4 separate regions of the Homo sapiens genome follow, and regions 1, 2 and 3 are each linked to region 4. Evidence: promoter capture Hi-C in 16 types of primary human blood cells and fetal thymus (Javierre and others, 2016). All regions are on one chromosome and are shown on one strand. Each heading gives the region's core, a stretch centred on a gene start or on the middle of the fragment in contact. The rest is flanking DNA. Distances are from core to core; before and after follow the strand shown. Region 1 has its middle 67 kb from the start of FMR1NB. Region 2 has its middle 120 kb from the start of AFF2. Region 3 overlaps MTMR1 (myotubularin related protein 1). Region 4 holds the start of EOLA1-DT (EOLA1 divergent transcript).

Evidence for each region. The method cuts DNA at HindIII sites, captures the fragments that hold promoters and counts their contacts. A CHiCAGO score of 5 or more calls a contact.
Region 1: a fragment that was not itself captured here is called in contact with the fragment with the promoter of EOLA1-DT in region 4 in 1 of 17 cell types (M0 macrophages); the score reaches 6.1 in M0 macrophages.
Region 2: a fragment that was not itself captured here is called in contact with the fragment with the promoter of EOLA1-DT in region 4 in 1 of 17 cell types (M2 macrophages); the score reaches 7.2 in M2 macrophages.
Region 3: a fragment that was not itself captured here is called in contact with the fragment with the promoter of EOLA1-DT in region 4 in 1 of 17 cell types (M0 macrophages); the score reaches 8.8 in M0 macrophages.

What each region holds. Positions count from the first base shown.
Region 1 is chrX:148,046,777-148,049,476 of GRCh38, forward strand. No RefSeq gene overlaps it. Among named protein-coding and RNA genes, the nearest start is that of FMR1NB, 67 kb to the left of the region's middle. The HindIII fragment of the contact is 1,975 bases long and covers 285-2,259 here.
Region 2 is chrX:148,380,335-148,383,034 of GRCh38, forward strand. No RefSeq gene overlaps it. Among named protein-coding and RNA genes, the nearest start is that of AFF2, 120 kb to the right of the region's middle. RefSeq lists an enhancer at 1,128-1,217. The HindIII fragment of the contact is 812 bases long and covers 996-1,807 here.
Region 3 is chrX:150,700,271-150,702,970 of GRCh38, forward strand. All of the region lies in intron 2 of MTMR1 (myotubularin related protein 1), which reads left to right. Among named protein-coding and RNA genes, the nearest start is that of MTMR1, 8.2 kb to the left of the region's middle. The HindIII fragment of the contact is 4,353 bases long and covers 1-2,700 here.
Region 4 is chrX:149,538,302-149,541,001 of GRCh38, forward strand. EOLA1-DT (EOLA1 divergent transcript) reads right to left here and starts at 1,451. Exons shown (of 10, transcript NR_027455.5): 1 at 1,400-1,451; 2 at 423-605. It also overlaps a transcript of EOLA1 not described here. RefSeq lists silencers at 862-941, 1,692-2,001, 2,012-2,081, 2,114-2,304. The HindIII fragment of the contact is 11,440 bases long and covers 1-2,700 here.

The sequences.
Region 1 (2,700 bases), core at 22-2,521, 1.5 Mb before region 4:
TTTTTATTGTAGATTCCAATTCTGTGGAACCTGTTCATCACAATTATTTTAAAGTCTTGGTCTGATAACTCCAATATTACCTGTTTCTGTTTCTAGCCTCTCTCTTTTTCTCTTGCTCCTATTTATTTGTATGTCAGTAATTTTTACTGAATAGATCAAGAACGTGAAGGATTAGACCCTCCTCCTCCCTGCCTATTTCTGACCCAAGAGATGAGGCCTAAACTGAGATTGAAGAGAAGATTTGAATTCAGAATGAGATTGAAGTTTTGATTTAAACTCTGAAAAGCTTTAATACCTGAAAAGAAGATTGTTTTAAAAAATGAAAGTGCTTATGTTTCTCTTATTGTTTCTTCAGAGTTTAAAAGAATACAACTCTTTGTCATATAAAAAATGGTTTTGACTGAATGCCCAACATTGTGTATGAAACATATAGAGACTCCAGATCATGTTATCTTCCTTCAGAGGATATTGCCTTTTCCTCTGTCAGGCAGCAGAGAATTAGATAAATGTAATTCAACTTGGGGCTTTGCTAACTGAAAGCTAATTTGCGGTCTTTGTATGTCCCAGTTTGCTTCTGGTTTACTCCCACTTCTAGGGCGTAGCTCTCTAGGAGTTCCAACTAAGAATCAGGGTTGTTTGTTGGAACTCCTCCTACTTATAAGGTCATGAACTCCAATTTTTCACCCTCGAACATTGTGAGCCTGCTTGCTTGCTCTACTTTGTTGATGCTTTCTGATTGGCTTCTTACCCTAATTTTCTGCACAGTTTAAACTGTAAATGCCTCTAGAAGAACACTGGTTCCAAGCGCTAGGTTCTATTCTCTGTCCCTTCTATCTCTCTGAGAGCTTGGTCTCTCAACACCTAGCTGCATTGTCCACTGAACACTTTTAATCTCCCCAGCCCCAAGAGGTGACCTAAAACTGCTCTGCTAAATTCTTTATCTCATTCTCCATGCCAAAAACATCAAGGAGGAAAATAAGTGTCCATGAAGTAAGCTCACCTTAATGAGCTCCCTTCTTTCTGGATCTAGTTTCTCAAGTCCTGGCTACCTTAGTAGCCTTCTTATTTCTTCTCAAAAAATGTTTATAAAAACCTGCCTTTTCTACTTTTTCTTGTTAAAATATTCATCTCTACTACAAGCTACTCAATCATAGAAGACCTCTGAACTCATGATTAAAATACGTGCATGCGTGTGTGTGTGTGTGTGTGTGTGTGTGAGTGTGTGTGTATGTATTTCTATCTCTGTTCATTGATTGACTGGATATAGGAGTAATGACCCTGTAGTAGCATACATACCTAACACCAAGATATTTGTTTCTATGCATCATTTCTTACTTAAACTAATCAGGTTTCTTTGGAGAAACTACTGATTTCAGTGAAAGTACAAGCACAATGTGAGCCTAGATATAGATATCTTGCTATACCAGTGATATGGTTTGGCTATGTCCCCACCCAAATCTCATCTTGAATTGTAGCTCCCATAATCCCCACATGTTGTGAGAGGGACCCAGTGGGAGGCAAATGAATCATGGAGAAGGGTTTTTTTTCCCTGCTGTTCTCATGGTAGTGAATAAGACTTACAAGATCTGATGGTTGTATAAAGGGCGGTTCTCCTGCACATGCTCTCTTGCCTGCTGCCATGTAAGACATACCTTTGCTCCTCCTTTGCCTTCCACCATGATTGTGAGGCCACACCAGCCATGTGGCACTTGAGTCCATTAAACCTCTTTTTTCTTTATAAATTACCCAGTCTCGGGTATTTCTTCATATCAGTATGAAAATGGATTAATACAACCAGAAAGTAAGAAAGTGATCAGAGAATGATGGGGACATTTCATAAGGACACAGGAAGCAACTTGAAGGGACACCCACTGGCCAAGTCTGGGATAATTTAAACATAAAAAAAATTTGGTAATAGTTTATAGTACATTGAGTTAAGAAAAAAAAATCCATAAATTCATGGTAATATTCAAAGTAAAATAAAAGGAGAGGAGAAAAAAGAATTCCCAGTGTGTTTTTTTTAAAACAGAAGAATGCCAGCTACTAAATGTAGAAGGAATAAAATAATTAGAAAAGCAATACTTTTTAACACCCAAAGTAATAATTGGCTCAGGTAAGGATCATCAGAGGATGCTAATATGACTGGGTAAAATGTTGAAAATAAGTCTCAAAATATCACTCTACAGACTACTTTTAAAGAGAAAAAATGTGCTTTCTCAATGGAAAAGTCTGGTGGTCATCACTTTAACCAAGTGGTCAAGCTTGGCAATGCCAATAGTGGTTTTGCTTGATGATGTGCCTTCAGTATGATCAAGAGGAAGGTACACAACGTCATTTATGTGATGTTCTTGCTGGAAATGTTTGATCTAACTATCATAGCGAGGAAAGAGGCAATTCTAGAATGTGAGGTATGATGGAGGACATCCTACCTGGACTCTTTAAAGAGACACTCAAATGCTCTGAGTGAATCTTGAGTGGATCTTGGATTGGAAAAACAGAAGCTATAAAGGATATTTTGGAGGATAATCGAAGGAATTTTAGTGAAGACTGGATGCTGGATGATATTGAATTCATGGTGACTTTCTTAGGTGTGTTGGTATTGTGGTTATAGGAATCAGTTTATTCTTGGAAAATACATCCTGAAATATTTTGCAGTGAAGTGTCATGATGAAAGCAACCTACTTTTGTATGATTTGGAAA
Region 2 (2,700 bases), core at 152-2,651, 1.2 Mb before region 4:
GCAATCTCACTCACTCTCCTGGGACCTAAAAGGAGAGCCTCACCTGGGGTGCCACAAAATGTTACCAGCATCATGGATTCTTGTGATTGCCCAGGATAGAAACCAAAAGAGATAACCAAACATAGCAGCAAAGGAAAGTTTATTCCGCTTGTGCACAGGGGAGTCAGCACCAAGAAGGGAAAAGAAATGGGTTGCTTATCGAGGGTAGTCTGTGAGTTAGGTTTACAGGAGTTTTCTACAGGAAAGTATTACATTCGAGCATGTATAGGAGTAGGAGGGATTTTTCTAGTGCTTGTGCATTGGCTCAACATGCTTTTTCATACATCATATGTAGAATTAGCATTTTACATCTCCACCTCTGGGCATGATTTTTAACATTAAAATAAGGAAGGGGTAACTGTAGTTCGAAGTTTAACTCTAACTGCACATGCAGGGCCCTGGGGAAGTCCCTAGCCCCCGAAGCAGGAATTTGTGGTTAACAGCTTCTTGGGTCTTTTATTACTGATTGGTTGAGAGTTAGGTAAGCTACAGCTTGAGTAAGGAACTTGCATTCTTTTACTCCAGACCATATTAAAACAGGGAACCAACCAGCCTGCCTGTCTCATAGCTAGTTTGCTTTAATCTGTTCCCAGCTTACCTTCCTTTTCTCAGATGAAATGAGACTCATGTTAACCAAAATGCCATCCTACCTTTTGTCTTTTGACTAGACACATTGTAGAGGTTTGGATTTGTTAACCTGGAATGGGAAAGGCTGAGAGGGGAAATGATCCTGGGTATGCTAATGAGCAGAAAGAAAACAAGGATGGCACGGATACCTCTCTCTCCCCCTTCTATGTGTGTCCTCTACCTGTTGTACATTCGTATGAGATAGGTATTAATATAACCTACACTTCGTAGGTGACGAAACAGTCTCAGAGAGTGAAAGGGACTTGACCAAAGTCACAGAGCCAGTGAGTGACAGGGTCAGGGAGAGAAGCCACGTCTGCATGACTCAAAGCTTATGTCTCTAATTACCCTACATACTACCCCGCCGCCTTTGCAAGTTATAAATAGGTCATGCTGGCTTTACTCATTAAGTCCTGGGTTGCTAAAGTGAAAGAAAAACTTCCTTCCCAGTATGCCTTGTACACATCCTGAAACTGAAAGAAAGCACTTTAGAACAAATTAAAGGCAGTTGTCTTCTGTGTCTTAGGGAACAAAAATACTAATTGTATTTTTAACCTCAAATTGTAGAGCCTGAAAAGACTGGCTTGAGAAGGAGCCTAGGTCATTCCCTGGACACCTAGAGGTCTAGAGGGCATAATAGAGGTCCACAAGTTTTTCTCAATGTGAAACAAACAATAATCCTCCCAACCAGACAGAGAATTTACATACGCTCCCTTTCAGACCGGGCAGGCAGACAAAGTCACAAGTGCTTTGACTTTGGGCTAAGGATTCTGTCAGGTCCATCAATCCTTTAACCTCACCTTCACAGCCATGATAGCTAACCCTGACTGAACACTTTCTGTATGCCAGCCACTGTTCCACTTCCTTTACTCCTCATAACAACCCTGAGGTTATGACTAGTATCACCTCTATTTTGCAGAAACTTGAGGGCATCTCATGCTGACAAGAAACTAATTGGGAGTTACCCAATCCTTTCAATTAATTCTTTAAAAGGGAAAATTTATTTAATTACTCCCTCATAAATGCAGGTGGTAAAGAAGGCTATTCAAATAAATAAATGCTGTTTGATATAGCAAAATATTTCAAAATGTGTAGTCCCCAGTGAGGAGAGTTCTTTATAAAGGTGGCCTTGATGATGGGAAGCTTTGGGCTGTCGATTGGCTTAGATCATATAATGAGTGATAATCTTACTGGGCTCTCAGAGAATTCCAGGAAGTCTAATGTAAACCCTAACCTTTGGGGGCCCGTCTCAGGAAGATCAGTGACCATTCTTGCTCAAATTCATCACTAGAGTCTCTGGGCTGGGTCATCGGAATGACCCATTTCATATGTAAAGTCTTTGAACACAAGAAATCAGTCATCTTGTAACACTAAGATAACACAAAAACCCAAAAACATGCAAAAAGGGACACACGTGTATGATAAATCTGTGGCTTGGGCCCCATTTATACTCTAAAATACATCACTCTTGCCTTCTGTTCTACTTATTGTCACTGGCTGCACTTTGCTAGAATGGTCAGATCCATTGGGGGTAAAAATCCCAAGCATAGCAACAGTGTCCAAGCAGAAGCAGCAGTCAAATGTTTTTAACTATCAGAGGGAAGGCCTGTGTACCAATAATCAACTCAGAAGCCAAATCAAAGTGGGTTCCACTGTAGCAGAAATGATGTGGAGTAGAACTAGCAAGGAAGGGCAAGCAGTCCCCATCTTTTAGAATTTTGCACCAGATCCATGGAAATCTCAGTCCAGCAAAATGCATCTCAGCCAGCTAGAAGAAAACCGCTGGCTGAAAGTTTAGTGGCAGAAAATGTGACCTGATTTTCTTCAGAAATAACAATGATGGTCATTGAGTGATAACTAACTACACCCCAGATACTATTCTAAGTGTATGTTATCTCATTTGATTTTCTAGAGGGATACACAGCAACCCCATTTTGCATGGAGGGCAAAAACCTCTTCTGTGTACCTCACTGGAATATGTGTTTTCAGGAAGATAGGGAAAACATGGATGGCCTGCACCTTGACAAATGTAAT
Region 3 (2,700 bases), core at 8-2,507, 1.2 Mb after region 4:
AGGAGCTTTATCTTCAGTTCCTCTTTAGAGCTCATAGGGTAATAACAAGTGCAGAAACAGGCTCAGGAGGCCAATTAATTGAGATTTGGCTATGGTGCTGTCTCTTGCCTCATCCAAACTGGCAGATGCTGTTGATTATGCCTACCAAAGGAAGGCATAGCTGTGGATTAGCAGAAATTGGATAATCTGCCCAGCTAGAAGAGTGACAGTGTATTTCTTAATCATTTTTCCTGCTATGTGGTGTTCATGTTTGCCCATAAAAGAGCAGCTGGGGCTCCTGGACCTTAAAACCTGGTCGGGCAAACACACTGTCTCCAGGTGGGAGAAGCATTTGCTGCATCACTGATGCGTGAATGGCTGGTCACTGAGCAGCTGCGGATCGCATCAGTTCCAGTTGCCCTATTGCCTGCACCTTAGCTGAGAAACTGCCCGCTGAGTAGAGAGACTTAAGAACCCATTTTAGCAGAGAATAGCTCTCACACTTCGGGGTGATTTTCTTTATGGACAATTATGAGTTAACTGTAATGTTTTCATTAAGGTTGAATAGTTGTTAGTGTTGTGTGTGTCCTATAAAAGATTGAATGTCGACTGTGTGCATAGCTTTCTAACATTGCATGAATAGATCAGACTGAATCTGTACTTTAACATGAAGCAACTAAGTTTTTTCAATCTCAGTCTATTTACAAATTTTGTGTAGCTGAATTAGCTCATGTTGGAATGGTTGAACAGATGGTATTCAGAAAAAATAAGGCTTTCTTTCTTTTGGAAATTAAATTTTAAGTTCCTACATCAGATCATAGCTAAAGTCTTTGATGAATTATTGTAAGGGGGCATGTTTTATAATTGTCTTTGTTATATTTGCCCTGCAGCCAAATCTGAAAAGTTGGTGTTAAATTTATAACTCAGGGGTTGTTACACTTTCTTCAAGGAGAGTTTTTTTTTTTACATAATAAATACATAAAATATTTCTAAACCACAAGGATAATTGTACATGTTCCCTATAAAGTAGTTCTTAAAATCAGGGTAACCAAAATGGGCCTTTGGGACCCCTCTGGCATGGGAGCTATTGCATGGGGTTGACCCTGAAGAGCCAGATAAAGTTCCTTGAGGATTTAAGTTGCAGTCATCAGCTGATATTTGAAATTATCTGTTGTGTAAATGTCTTATTTGAAATACACACTTAATTTGGGGGCTAATTTATTATAGATTAAACTCAACATCAGTAATTAAATGGGAGCAGATGTTTATGTGGAGCAGAATGCTTGGCATCTTATTTGAAATGCTGATTGTCTTCTGAGTTGTAACAGGCTGTCGAGAATGGTTCTATGTCATCATCATCATCATCATCATCAACCCTCTAACACATACAGGCTCTGGGGTTTTGTAATGCTTTTTGACATGTCATCCATTTAAGCCTTAAAACAACCTAGTGAATCTGGGTGTGGTGGTCTGTAGTCTCAGCTACTTGGAAGGCTAAGATGGGAGGATCACTTGAGTCCAGGAGTTCAAGGCTGCAGTGTGCTGTGGTCACACTTGTGAAAAGCCAATGCACTCTAGCCTAGACAACATAGAGAGATCTTGCTTCTTTAAAAAAGTCCATTGAGGTAGCTATTACTACAATCATCATTTAATGGATGAGGAAACCGAGGCCTAGAGAGATGAAATGACTTGCTTAGGGTCATACAGTTAGACTTGGGATTTGAACTCAAGTCATCCTATTGAAAAGCTAGAGTGATTTTAAGATTTTGTCCCACCCCCATTCCCATCCACTGCTTTTCGATCTTTTTTTTTCTTCTTTTTCTTCTTCTTCTTTCTTTCTTTTTTTTTTTTTTATAGAGATGGGGTCTTACTACGTTTCCCAGGCTGGTCTTGAACTCCTGGGCTCGAGCGATCCTCCCATCTCGGCCTCCCAAAATGCTGGGATTAGAGGTGTGAGCCACCATACCCAGCCTCATCCACTGTTTTTCAAAATGTGACCCTTGGGTCTTCCCAAGACAGCATTCTCTGGAGCACCTGTAAAAATGCAGCTTCCCGGGCTCCATCCCAGATTTACTGAATCAGAGTGTCTGAGGGAGGGAAACAAGTGTCTCATATATTTCTTATGCATGATAAAATCTGAAAACCTAGGCTTCCTGAGTTTCTGTCTGTTGAAATTGGTGATGGGACCCTGCATTTCTGGTATATTACTAAGAATCTGAATAATTAGCAACTCAGATATTGGAGAATAATTATTTTATTATTTACTCATATCATAAATTGTCAGTCAGCCCAGGGTCAGCTCATCTAAAGTACAGTAAGAATATCGCTGGTATCACGTGACATGAGTTTAGATGGTATGTCCATGGACGTATTTTAGTAGCTATGTAATTATTTTCTTGTGTATTAGAAAAATCAGCACATCAGGCTTGTGATTTAGTAGATGTTATGGCTTAGAGCAGGCAAAGTATTAAAAAGGAATGGATTTTAAATCAATATAAAGATAAATACAAAATTAGTATGGGCAGTTGGCAGATACAGCAAGCCAAACTTGTTGAGGTGGTATGTGAAATGGCAAGTTTGGCAAGCATTGTCCCAGCTGAAAGAGTAGATAGCTATTATACTGAATTGTGTGGCAGCTAAATTAATAAATGCCTGATTTAATACCGAGTCATCCTGAAGATTGGCCTGTTAATTAAGACTATTACACAAAATGTAATAAAA
Region 4 (2,700 bases), core at 201-2,700:
GCAGCCACAAGTCTTACAGAGCAATTACCACCCTGGGTTGCAAGAGCCTAACGTGGGGTGGGGACGGGGGAGGTACAAAATGCTATCAGAGCTGGAGACGAAAGTCTCTAATACTCGGAGTGGGGCTGTGAAGGTGACTTTAAAGTTGTGCCTTGAAGGAGGCCAGGAGCGCACCAGGACAAGGCCATGGGAACCGCCGGTGCAAAGCAGGGAGACCTGGAACAGCAGGCTGGTGGGGACCAGTGACTGAACAGCACAGCGTGAACCCAAAGAGTGTTTGGCTTAAGGGTGGGGAGAGCTGAGCCGACTCCCTGAACTGCTAGGACTTAAACCTGAGAAGGCCCAGCAGCGTTTTCACTAGAGGATTGCTGGGGACAGATTTGTGACTTAGAAACTGAGCCGATGGAATGTGGACGACAGACCTGAGGGAAGAAAGACAGAGGACTCCAGGTTGCTCAGGAGGCTCATGGAACAGTGCAGGCTCCAGACCACGAGGCCTGAATTCTGGAAGTAGCAGCGGGGATGCAGGACGAGGAGCCGTTTTGTCTCATCAGGCACTCCAGAGGCAGGGACCCAGAACTTGGTTATGAAGTCAATGCGGGAGACTAGATAAGGGGAGGGACAGAGGAGTAAAGCATGGCAGCACTACAGAACCTGAGCCCGTGACTGAGAGAAGAGAGTTTGAAAAGCAAGTTTGCCAGGGAAGTTGGGCTGTGTGCTGGGCGACTTAGGTCGGAGGAGGCAAGACATTAAGAGTGGGGATGTTTCTCATCACCTGCAAAAGAGACGTTAAAGAGACGGTTCCTCCGGACCCCACTGGCAGGCACTGACAGAGCGGCTAGGACACAGGAGAGCAGGCCTGGGGGGCTCAGCCCTGCAAGACTCAGCCTAGAGCTGCATAGACCCCAGTCAAGTGTTCCCGCCCTTCTTGCTGCTTCCGTGCCCTATGGGGGTAGACACTGGAGGTGCAGTTAGGTCGCTGCGGGCAAGTTTTGACTCTTGCCTAAGGGTGCATCACAGAAGGGCCTCAGCTCCCTCCCCCAGCTCCACCCACAGCTCCACCCCCAGTTCGGCTCTGCTTCATTTCACCAGCATCTCCACCCCCAGCTCCTCCTCCGGCAGCTCCGCCCCAGCTGTTCCGCCCCCAGCTCTTCCTCCTCCCAGCACTTAACCAGTTCCACCCACAGCTCTTTCCCACAACTACGCCCTCCTCTTGCAGGCGGCTCCTCCAGAAGCTCTAACCCAGTTCCTGCTGCAGCCCCACCCTGCTCACCCTGCATCTCCAGTCCCAGCTCCGCCTCCTCTAGCCCCGTCCCGCTTCTCCTACCCCTCTGCCCACCCCAGCACCTTTCAGCTCTTTCCTCCAGCTCTGCACTAGCTCCTCCCCCACCATTCTCACCCGCCAGCCTTACTCCAGCTTGGCTCCCCCTTCTCCAGCAATTTCCCGCAGCCCCGCCCCATCTGCTCCCACACCTCTTTGCCACAGCCCCGCCCTGCTCCTCCTCCAGGAACGCCCGGCTTTCCCTCAGCTCCACGCTGCAGCTGAGCTGTGCACCAGGCCCTCCCACAGAGCTTTCTCGTGATTCCACCCTACACCTCCCCAAGCCCCCGCTCCCCTAAGCTGGTTCTCAGGAGTCCGAGGGGTCCTCCCGCAGCTGCTCCTCGCTCAGTTCTCCCATTGCCCCGCCCTGCTCTTCGCGGGGCTGCTTCCAAAGCCCCGACCTCAGCCAGCAGTTTCTCTCAGCCCCGCCCCTCCCTGCCCCGCCCCTCCCCTCCCTGCCCCGCCCCGCTTCTCCCGCGGCTGCTCCCAAAGCCCCGCCCTCGGCCCCCTCCCCAGCAGTTTCTCTCAGCCCCGCCCCACCCCGAGCCCCGCCCGCAGCCCCGACCTGCTTCTCCTGTGGCTGCCTCCAAAGCCCCGCCCCCAAACCTTCCCCAGCATTCTCAGCCCCCCCAGAGCCCCGCCTCTCCCAGCCCCGCCCTACTTCTCACGCAGCTGCTTTAAAAACCCCGCCCCCAGCCCCTCCCAGTGATTTCTTTCTCCCCCTCCCTCCTTCTCTCAGCGGACACCTGCCTCCCCCTGCTGATTCTCAAGAGTCCGCGAGCTCTTCCTGCAGCTTCTCCTCGCTCAGCTCTCCCACGGCCCTGCCCACAATGGTTTCTCTCAGCCCCGCCCGGCCCTGCCCCACACCCCGCCTCTTATCTCAGCCCCGCCCTCAACCCAGCCCCCAATTGTTTCTGTCAGTCCCGCTCGGCCCCTCCCCCAGCTCCGCCCTCCTCCTCTCAGCCCCGCCTCCACCCCCTCCCCAGCGGTTTCTCCCAGCTCCTCCCTGCTGGTATAGCAGCTCTGGGCCCAAAACTCCTGCCTGGTGTCCTCGTCCCACCCTTCCACTTACTCTTCCTCCCTCCCGTTCCTTTTCCTCCTTCCGGTTCTTCGTCGAGGCTGCCGGTCTCGAGGTCCCCTGGCCTTGGCCTGGTTGGCTGGCGCGCATCAGGGCCAGGTAAAGAGAATAGCGTCTCCTAGCAGCCAGGGCGTGCGTACGTGCGTGATGTCGTCAGTGCGTGTCTTCGAGAATGCGAGATTCATAATGTTTGCTGTCTATATGCATGGCTGAGTACGTGCCTCCCGCGTACGTGCGTGGTGTGCATACATGCGTGATTGCGCGCCCACGTACGTTCTTCGTGAAAGGGATGACGGGAGCT